3 separate regions of the Homo sapiens genome follow, and all the other regions are linked to region 1. The links are contacts of gene promoters, found by promoter capture Hi-C in blood cells and fetal thymus (Javierre and others, 2016). All regions are on one chromosome and are shown on one strand. Each heading gives the region's core, a stretch centred on a gene start or on the middle of the fragment in contact. The rest is flanking DNA. Distances are from core to core; before and after follow the strand shown. Region 1 holds the start of IL20 (interleukin 20). Region 2 overlaps CR1 (complement C3b/C4b receptor 1 (Knops blood group)). Region 3 overlaps CR1 (complement C3b/C4b receptor 1 (Knops blood group)).

The links. The method cuts DNA at HindIII sites, captures the fragments that hold promoters and counts their contacts. A CHiCAGO score of 5 or more calls a contact.
Region 2: a fragment that was not itself captured here is called in contact with the fragment with the promoter of IL20 in region 1 in 7 of 17 cell types (endothelial precursors, fetal thymus, naive CD8 T cells and 4 more); the score reaches 10.0 in endothelial precursors.
Region 3: a contact is called between a fragment that was not itself captured here and the fragment with the promoter of IL20 in region 1, in 1 of 17 cell types (endothelial precursors). The highest score is 5.6, in endothelial precursors.

The regions. Positions count from the first base shown.
Region 1 is chr1:206,864,309-206,867,008 of GRCh38, forward strand. IL20 (interleukin 20) reads left to right here and starts at 1,315. Exons shown (of 6, transcript NM_018724.4): 1 at 1,315-1,378; 2 at 1,515-1,703; 3 at 1,991-2,056; 4 at 2,176-2,328. The coding sequence starts at 1,545. The HindIII fragment of the contact is 6,531 bases long and covers 474-2,700 here.
Region 2 is chr1:207,498,430-207,501,129 of GRCh38, forward strand. The region is part of intron 1 of CR1 (complement C3b/C4b receptor 1 (Knops blood group)); the gene reads left to right. Among named protein-coding and RNA genes, the nearest start is that of CR1, 3.6 kb to the left of the region's middle. RefSeq lists an enhancer at 1,131-1,190. The HindIII fragment of the contact is 209 bases long and covers 1,220-1,428 here.
Region 3 is chr1:207,518,100-207,520,799 of GRCh38, forward strand. All of the region lies in intron 4 of CR1 (complement C3b/C4b receptor 1 (Knops blood group)), which reads left to right. Among named protein-coding and RNA genes, the nearest start is that of CR1, 23 kb to the left of the region's middle. The HindIII fragment of the contact is 432 bases long and covers 1,109-1,540 here.

The sequences.
Region 1 (2,700 bases), core at 65-2,564:
CATATTGCCTGGCATATAGGAAAAATTCAGTAAGTGATAATGATTATCAGTGCTGTGCCAAGCTATGGAGCCAGCCATATATATATGGATGTGTGCATATATATATATGATGTGTGTGTATATATATATGTCTTTATAAATTTTATGTATTTATTTCTTTCAAAAATATTAAAGTATTTGAGAAAATTGAAAAATTAAAAAGTAGGTTTATTACGACTCATGACTTTAAGTTTAAATATTTTATTTCTGCCCCAAACAAAATTTATTATAATTTTACTGTCCTGGTTTTAAGGGAAGGAAACTCATCAATAATATTTTCATCATATGCTTTTGAGAAACAAAGTTAACCATTAAGAATGAAACATGAAAACATGTGAATAGTGGTACAAATTTTTCCTTTTGCTTCAATATGGCTCAGCATGGCACTGTCGAATTTTGTCTTTATATAAAATTTTGATATTTTGTTTGTCATAAGCTTTTTAATTCATTTTGATATTGCACTAAAATATTTTTATCTTGATGACTGAGGTTTTTTAGTGCTCCCTTAAATTTTGCACCTAAAATGAGTGCCTCAATTGTTTTACCCTAACCTCAGCCCATTATTATTTTATCTTAAAACTCAGCAAACACCCTAACCTGCTCTCTTACTGAGGAGGCTCGCCCAAGAATAAATGAGTTCCGTCATTGCCTTTCTTCTCTGACTTTTGGGACCATTTGCTTGGTCTAGGACCTGAGTTGCAGGTCCAGGAAAGCGTGTACTCTCGAATCCACCCAGGAGTGCCTGACTACAGTCCTCCTGCAGAGGGCGCTGTGGAGTCCCAGACACGAGTGTTAGGTGGAATCGGGCTGATTGCCCATCACGTCTTGCCTTTCCCTGGCAGTAGGCTTGTTATGAAATCATTGACTTTCTATTTGCCTCTGGGGCTTAAGCGAATCTGTTACCCTCAAATAACCTATCTGATCTCAGACAAATGCCAAACAGAGCTCAGTTTCTCTGCCCTGTGGGTGGCCATAAAATCCAGACAATTTCCCCCTAGGTGTTTTCGATGGCGCAGCCACAGCTTCTGTGAGATTCGATTTCTCCCCAGTTCCCCTGTGGGTCTGAGGGGACCAGAAGGGTGAGCTACGTTGGCTTTCTGGAAGGGGAGGCTATATGCGTCAATTCCCCAAAACAAGTTTTGACATTTCCCCTGAAATGTCATTCTCTATCTATTCACTGCAAGTGCCTGCTGTTCCAGGCCTTACCTGCTGGGCACTAACGGCGGAGCCAGGATGGGGACAGAATAAAGGAGCCACGACCTGTGCCACCAACTCGCACTCAGACTCTGAACTCAGACCTGAAATCTTCTCTTCACGGGAGGCTTGGCAGTTTTTCTTAGTAAGTTGCGTGGATGGGCCACACTGTCTGAGGCCAGATAAGGCTGTTCTCTTCCCCTGACCCCCCACCCCTCACCCCGTGGACACTTGGAGGAGGGGAAACTCAGTAAGTCATGCTCTCTTCTTTGAATTCCTAGCTCCTGTGGTCTCCAGATTTCAGGCCTAAGATGAAAGCCTCTAGTCTTGCCTTCAGCCTTCTCTCTGCTGCGTTTTATCTCCTATGGACTCCTTCCACTGGACTGAAGACACTCAATTTGGGAAGCTGTGTGATCGCCACAAACCTTCAGGAAATACGAAATGGATTTTCTGAGATACGGGGCAGTGTGGTACGTAAGCGGGTATCTACCTCTCCTGAAAGCCTTTTCTCTTCCTTCCTTGTCCGTTTCTCTTTCCTGGCAGTACTGGCAGTGTAATCATAAAAAGAGGCAGGCTGGGGATTCCTTACCCGGGGGATGTATTCCAAAGAAATAACTGTAGTTCAAATATTTAAAATGTTTTGGGAAAGGACACCTCCCACTAGTTCTTGGCAGGGAGTGGATGAGAAGTCTTGATATTGAAGACCCTGGCAGCAGGCACTGACTCATCCTTGCTTGTTTTGTCTTCTTCTGTTTAGCAAGCCAAAGATGGAAACATTGACATCAGAATCTTAAGGAGGACTGAGTCTTTGCAAGACACAAAGGTATGTGCTTGGCCCAGACAAACTCTGGGAGGAGGAGTGGAGTGGGAGCATCTCCATCACCCTGGTCTTGTCTCTGCTCTCCCCTTTCCCCTCACCAATATACCTGTGGTTTTTTGCAGCCTGCGAATCGATGCTGCCTCCTGCGCCATTTGCTAAGACTCTATCTGGACAGGGTATTTAAAAACTACCAGACCCCTGACCATTATACTCTCCGGAAGATCAGCAGCCTCGCCAATTCCTTTCTTACCATCAAGAAGGACCTCCGGCTCTGTGTGAGTGTGGGTCTTGGGTGACAGGATGCATCTCAGCACACAGCTTCAATGGCTTAGCAACTAAACTCTCTTTCCTACCTCCATTTAATGGATGGAGAAACTGAGTCCAAAAGTTCTAATAATCTGTGTTGAGACATGTGACTAGGTAATAAGAACTCAGTTTTATTGACTTTTCGGTATATGCTCTAGGCAAAAAGTACTTTGCAAAGTCTAAAGAACTATAAGATGCTAACTATTTGATATTAATGATAACTCTGTTGTCTTTGAAATTATACTTTTTCTGTAGGTGAGGTATCCTACAGTATATTAGTGCGTCCTCTGTCTAGGCAGTCAATTAGTAGACCATTGAGCTTGACCTCAGAATATAGTCTG
Region 2 (2,700 bases), core at 74-2,573, 630 kb after region 1:
CGTAAAGTGGTATAGTGCTATTTGAAAGAGGACTTAGATTAGCTGCAAATAGATATTGCAAATGTAGGACAACCCCTGAAAAATGTGAAAAAAAGAACTATAATTTATATGTTAATAAGTAAGAGAGAATTGCATCATATAAAATGCTCAGTTAAAACAATAAAGATGGCTGGGGACAGTGGCTCATGCCCATAATCCCAGCACTTTGGGAGGCTGAGGTGGGTGGATCACCTCAAGTCAGGAGTTCAAGACCAGCCTGGCCAACATAGTGAAACCCTGTCTCTACAAAAACACAAAAATTACCAGGGCATGATGGTGGGTGCCTGTAGTCCCAGCTACTCGGGAGGCTGAGGCATGAGAATCGCTTGAACCTGGGAGGCGGAGGTTGCAGTGAGTCGAGATCGTGCCATTGCACTCCAGCCTGGGTGACAGAGCGCAACTCCAAATCAAAAAAAAAAAAAAAAGAAACAAACAAACAAAACAAAAAACAATAAAGGGCAGGAAAAGAATGGAAGACAAAAAATAGAAACAGAGAACAAGAGAAAAAAAGCAACAAATAAAAACCAGTAACAAAACTAAAGCAACTATATCAACAATCATTTTGAGTGTCAATGATCGAAATGCACCATTTGAAACAGATCATCAGAGTGGATCAAGAAACAAGACCCAACTATATACTGTGTACAACAAGACCGTTTTAAATATAGACAATATATATGAAAAGTAAATGGATAAAGATATACCATGCTAATGCTAGTCACAGAAAGCAGGAATAGCTGTGTTAATTTCAAACACAGCAGACTTCAGACCAAGAAAAATTATTAGGGATAAAGAGGGGCATCATATAATGATAAAGGGGCCAATTATCCAAGAAGACGTAACAATATCCCATATGTATGCACCTGATGGAGAGACAAAATACGTGAGGCAAAACCCATAGAACTGCAAGGAGAAATAGATGGATTTACTATCATAGTTGGAGACTTCTATGATATCTTTCTGATATCAGAAAAGGTGCTGAAGTCTCCTTATCAGAAATGGGCAGATTCAGCAGGCAGAAAATCCGTAAGGACATACTTGAATTCAACAGCACCATCAATCCACTTGGGTATAATTGACATATATAGATGACTTCATCCACAACAGCAGAGCACATATTCTCCCGCTTACATTCATGGGGATAGACCACATTCTGAGCCATAAAATAGTACACGAATTAAGCTTTACCAGGCAGTGTTTAATATAGGGTGGACTCTGGCGCCCTCACGTGGTCCTCATATAGGATCTGGTTTGGTTATCCCTGCTAGGTAAAGGTGCAAGATAGAAGGGAAGTTCCAATTTGCTTTCTGTGCTTTGTGGTGTATTTTGGTTTACATATGCTCAGATGAGTGGATGTGTGATTTATATTATCTATTTTAATCTAAAATAAGCTTCACATTTGGACAGGTAACATCAAAAGTGTCCTACACAGAAATGCTGGGTGAAGATCCCAGTAATAAAACCAACTCCAGAAAACAAGAAAATGGTAGAGTTGACAATCCCTCTCACCCTCTCCGCAAAGACACATGTATACACATTTTTTGTCAGAGGCATTAAGTAGAAGAAATGCTGTCAGTCTAATCACAACTGATCACAACTCGATGAAACCAAAAAACCTAGAAAGTATCATGAAGACTGTCGAAATAAGCTTTACATTCACTATTGTGAACAGAGAGACTCAATGTGACTGTTTTTTGTCCCGTTAGATGTTAGCTAATGATTGTGCTAAGTCATGATGATTAACAAAGCATTTAAAATATTTATTTTATCTGTGTTACATTTCAAAAATTTATATTGAGGCATATAATTTATGTTCGTGTACATATATAATTTATAAATTTATATATTTGAAAGGGCATGCTCTTTTTTTAAACTGATAGAGGTGCCTAAGCAAAGCAAGTGCAAATCTATTCCTTAAAGGGTAAGTATGCAGAATGGAAAGCAGAGTGTTCTTTGGGTTGACAGCTCATATTGCAACAGACATGAAAGTGATGATGTGTTAATTGTGCATATAGCACAGAATACATCAACTTGCTTTGAATGGAATATCTGAACCAGGAGAATGTGAAAGTGGGCTGAGTCATACAAGACAAAACCCGAAATGAGATAACAATACATACCCACTAGAATGACTAAAATGAAAAAGATTGACCGAGCCAAGTGTTGGCGATAAGGTGGAGTAACTGGAATTATAATATACTGCTATTTGGCAGGTAAAATTATAACATTAACTTTAGAAAATAGTTCAACAGATTCTTAAAACCTTAGACACACACTCAACATTTTACTCTTAGGTTTTTACCCAAGAGAAATGAAATCATATGTCCACACAAAGACTTGTACATGAATTTTCATAGCAGTTTTGTTTGTAATAGCCAACACGTGGAAACAATCCAAATGTCCCTCAACAAGTAAATGGATAAACTAAATTAAGATATATTTATGCAATTGAATATTACCCAGCAACTAAAGGAAACAATTTGTATACATGCAGCAACCTAGATGGATCTCTAATTATGCTGTGTGAAGGCTAAACCATAAAAAAAAACCTGAGTGATTTCCTTTATACAATAGGATATAAATGAAGTGATTTAGGTTATATGAAATTTTAGAAAGTCAAATCAATCTGTAGTAAGAGAAAACCACCTGAGTTATTTCCTT
Region 3 (2,700 bases), core at 75-2,574, 650 kb after region 1:
TTTTTCTCTAAAACTGTTTTATTTATTTCCAACAATCTTTATATTTTTATTATCATTGTACATAAAAGCTTTCTAATTTCACTTTTAATATCTCCTCTGACCCATAGGCTGTTTAGAAGGGCATTGCTTAATTTCTAAATATTTAGAGATCTTCTAGTTATCATTCTTTCATTAATTTAATCATTTGAGACATGGTTTATTGCCCAGAATATGGACGATTTTGGTAAAATGTTACATATGCACTTGAATGTACAGTTATTTTGCTTCATTTTCTAGAAATGTCATTTAGGAAAATGTGGTTTAGAACAGTCTTTTTTTCCCCCTCCACTTGTTCTCTCAGTTATGGAGAAGCATGTGTAAAATATCTGTATTAGTTTCCCAGGGCTGCTGTAACAAATTACCACAAACTTAGTGGCTTCAAAGAAGAGAAATTTACTCTCTTAACAGTTTGGAGGCCAGAAATCCAGTTAAGATGTCAATAGGATTGGTTCCATCTGCAAGCTGTTCTGTGCCTCTCTCCAGGCTTCCTTCCAGTGGCTGCTGGCAATCGTTGATGTTCCTTGGCTTGTAGATGCATCATTTCCTTCTCTGTCTCCATCTTCTCATCGCCTTCTCCTCTGTGTGTGTCCTTTGCTCTTCTGTCTCCTATAAAGACACTGGACATGGATTTAGAGGCCACCCTGGCAATCCAGAATGGTCACAGCTCGAGATCATTAACGTGATTGTATCTACAAAGACTCTCCAAACTGGGTCATATTCACAGGTTTCAGAGATCAGGACACAGATATTTTTTAAGGAGGACAGTGGTTATTCAACCCATTACAATCCCCAACTACAACTATGAATTTGTCTGTCTTTCCTCTTTGTTCTAGCAATTTTTACTTTATGTATTTTAAACATGTTATTAAATGCATGAAATTTTTGGTTTATTCTTTCTGCTGAATTGACTATTTTATCATAATGAAATGTCTCTCTTTACCTCTCATAATACTTCTTACCTTAAAATCTACTTTGCATATTAATACAGCTATATAAGCTTTCTTTATTGTTTTTATATTATATGTGTTTTAAATCTTTTACTTTCAGCCCTTCTTTGTCTTATATTTAAAGCTTGTCTCTTATAAACATCATATAGTAAGGTTTTGTTGTTTTATTCAGTCTTAGTTGTTCATTGGTGTGTTTGGAACATTAAAATTTAATAATAAAAATTAAAAATAAATAAATTTAATATAGTTACTGATATAAAGTCTAAGTCTTGGTATTTGTTTCATGTGTTTGTTCCTTTATTCCTCATTTCTCACATTTTTTAATTCATCAAGTATTTTTATTATTCTATTTCCCCAGTAGCTTTTAAGTTATATTCCATTTTTTATTCTTAAATGACTACTCTAGAGATAGACATCCTTGATTTACTATAGTCTGCTAAAATTGTACTTTTACCACTCTCCAAACAACGCAAGTACCGAAACTATTAATAGTTAATTCCATTTATGTCCTCCCCCTCTTTTTGTATTGTTGCCATACGTTTTGCAAAAAGAAAAGCTTCAGCTGAATTAAATTTAAAAGAGTTTAATTGAGCAATGAACGATTCGCAAATCAGGCAGCCTCCCGAGCCAAAGTAAGCGCAGAGACTCCAGCCCAGCTGCAATGGGGGAAGAGGATTTACCGACAGAAAAAGGAAACTGACGTACAGAAAACAGAAGTGAGGTACAGAAACAGCCGATTGGTTATAGCTCAGCGTTTGCCTTATTTGAAAACAGTTCAAACAGTTGGCCACATTTGATTGGCCAAAACTCGGTGATTGGCGTAAGAGTAGTCTGCGGTCTGTTTACATCTTCACTTGTTATAGTTTGCAGTTTACAGAGAAACCTTTAGGCTGAGCTTAAACTACGTAAGGCTTTAGGCTAAACTTGATTTAACGATTTACATATATTCTATATTTCAAAGACACTGTTGTCTTTATAAAAACAGTATTTATTTATATTTACACCTTAGTGAATTCTTAGAATTTTTATGTTGCCTCAGCATCCATTTAGAATATGTTTAGCTTTCTCATGCCAGAAGCAGGGCTTAGTCACCCTTAATGCCCTTTCTAGTTCTGTACCTCCTCCCAATTTTGCAACGTGGTCGAGCCAGATATCTGCCTTATACAACTGCCTCCTGGTGACCACCTCTCTATGGGACAGCTAGATAAAACCTACTTGACTAGCGTCCCTGACCTCTGTGCCCTGCATGGACTTCGCAGATATGCTGCCGTGACCACCTCTCAGTCGCAGCACGACTGCCTGGAACATGTGCCTGCTTTCTTTAAACTCACCAATTAGAACTCCCCATGGGAGATACCTTGGCTTGTAGATGCAAGATGCTGGGTCATACTCTGGTCCCCAATAAAGGCATTGGCTGATGGGTCCCCTTCTCTCTGTCTGTCTCCTCGCGCTGACCAACCTCTGTGTGATCTTCAGGCGTGCCATACCCCCAGCCCGTAATAAAATCTTTACTGCCATCTTGTGTTTCTTGTAATGACTGAAGAGGTTTTCTCTATCATAAAGATCCTAAATGAAAACATACCCGCATATGAGCTCTTTCTGGTGTGTTTCCTTCTTATTGCAATTCTGTCAATTCTATATGAAACTATTTTCCTTCAGCCTGAAAAAGTCTCTTTGGCATTTTTGTATTGTAGAGCTTCTGACAACAAATTCT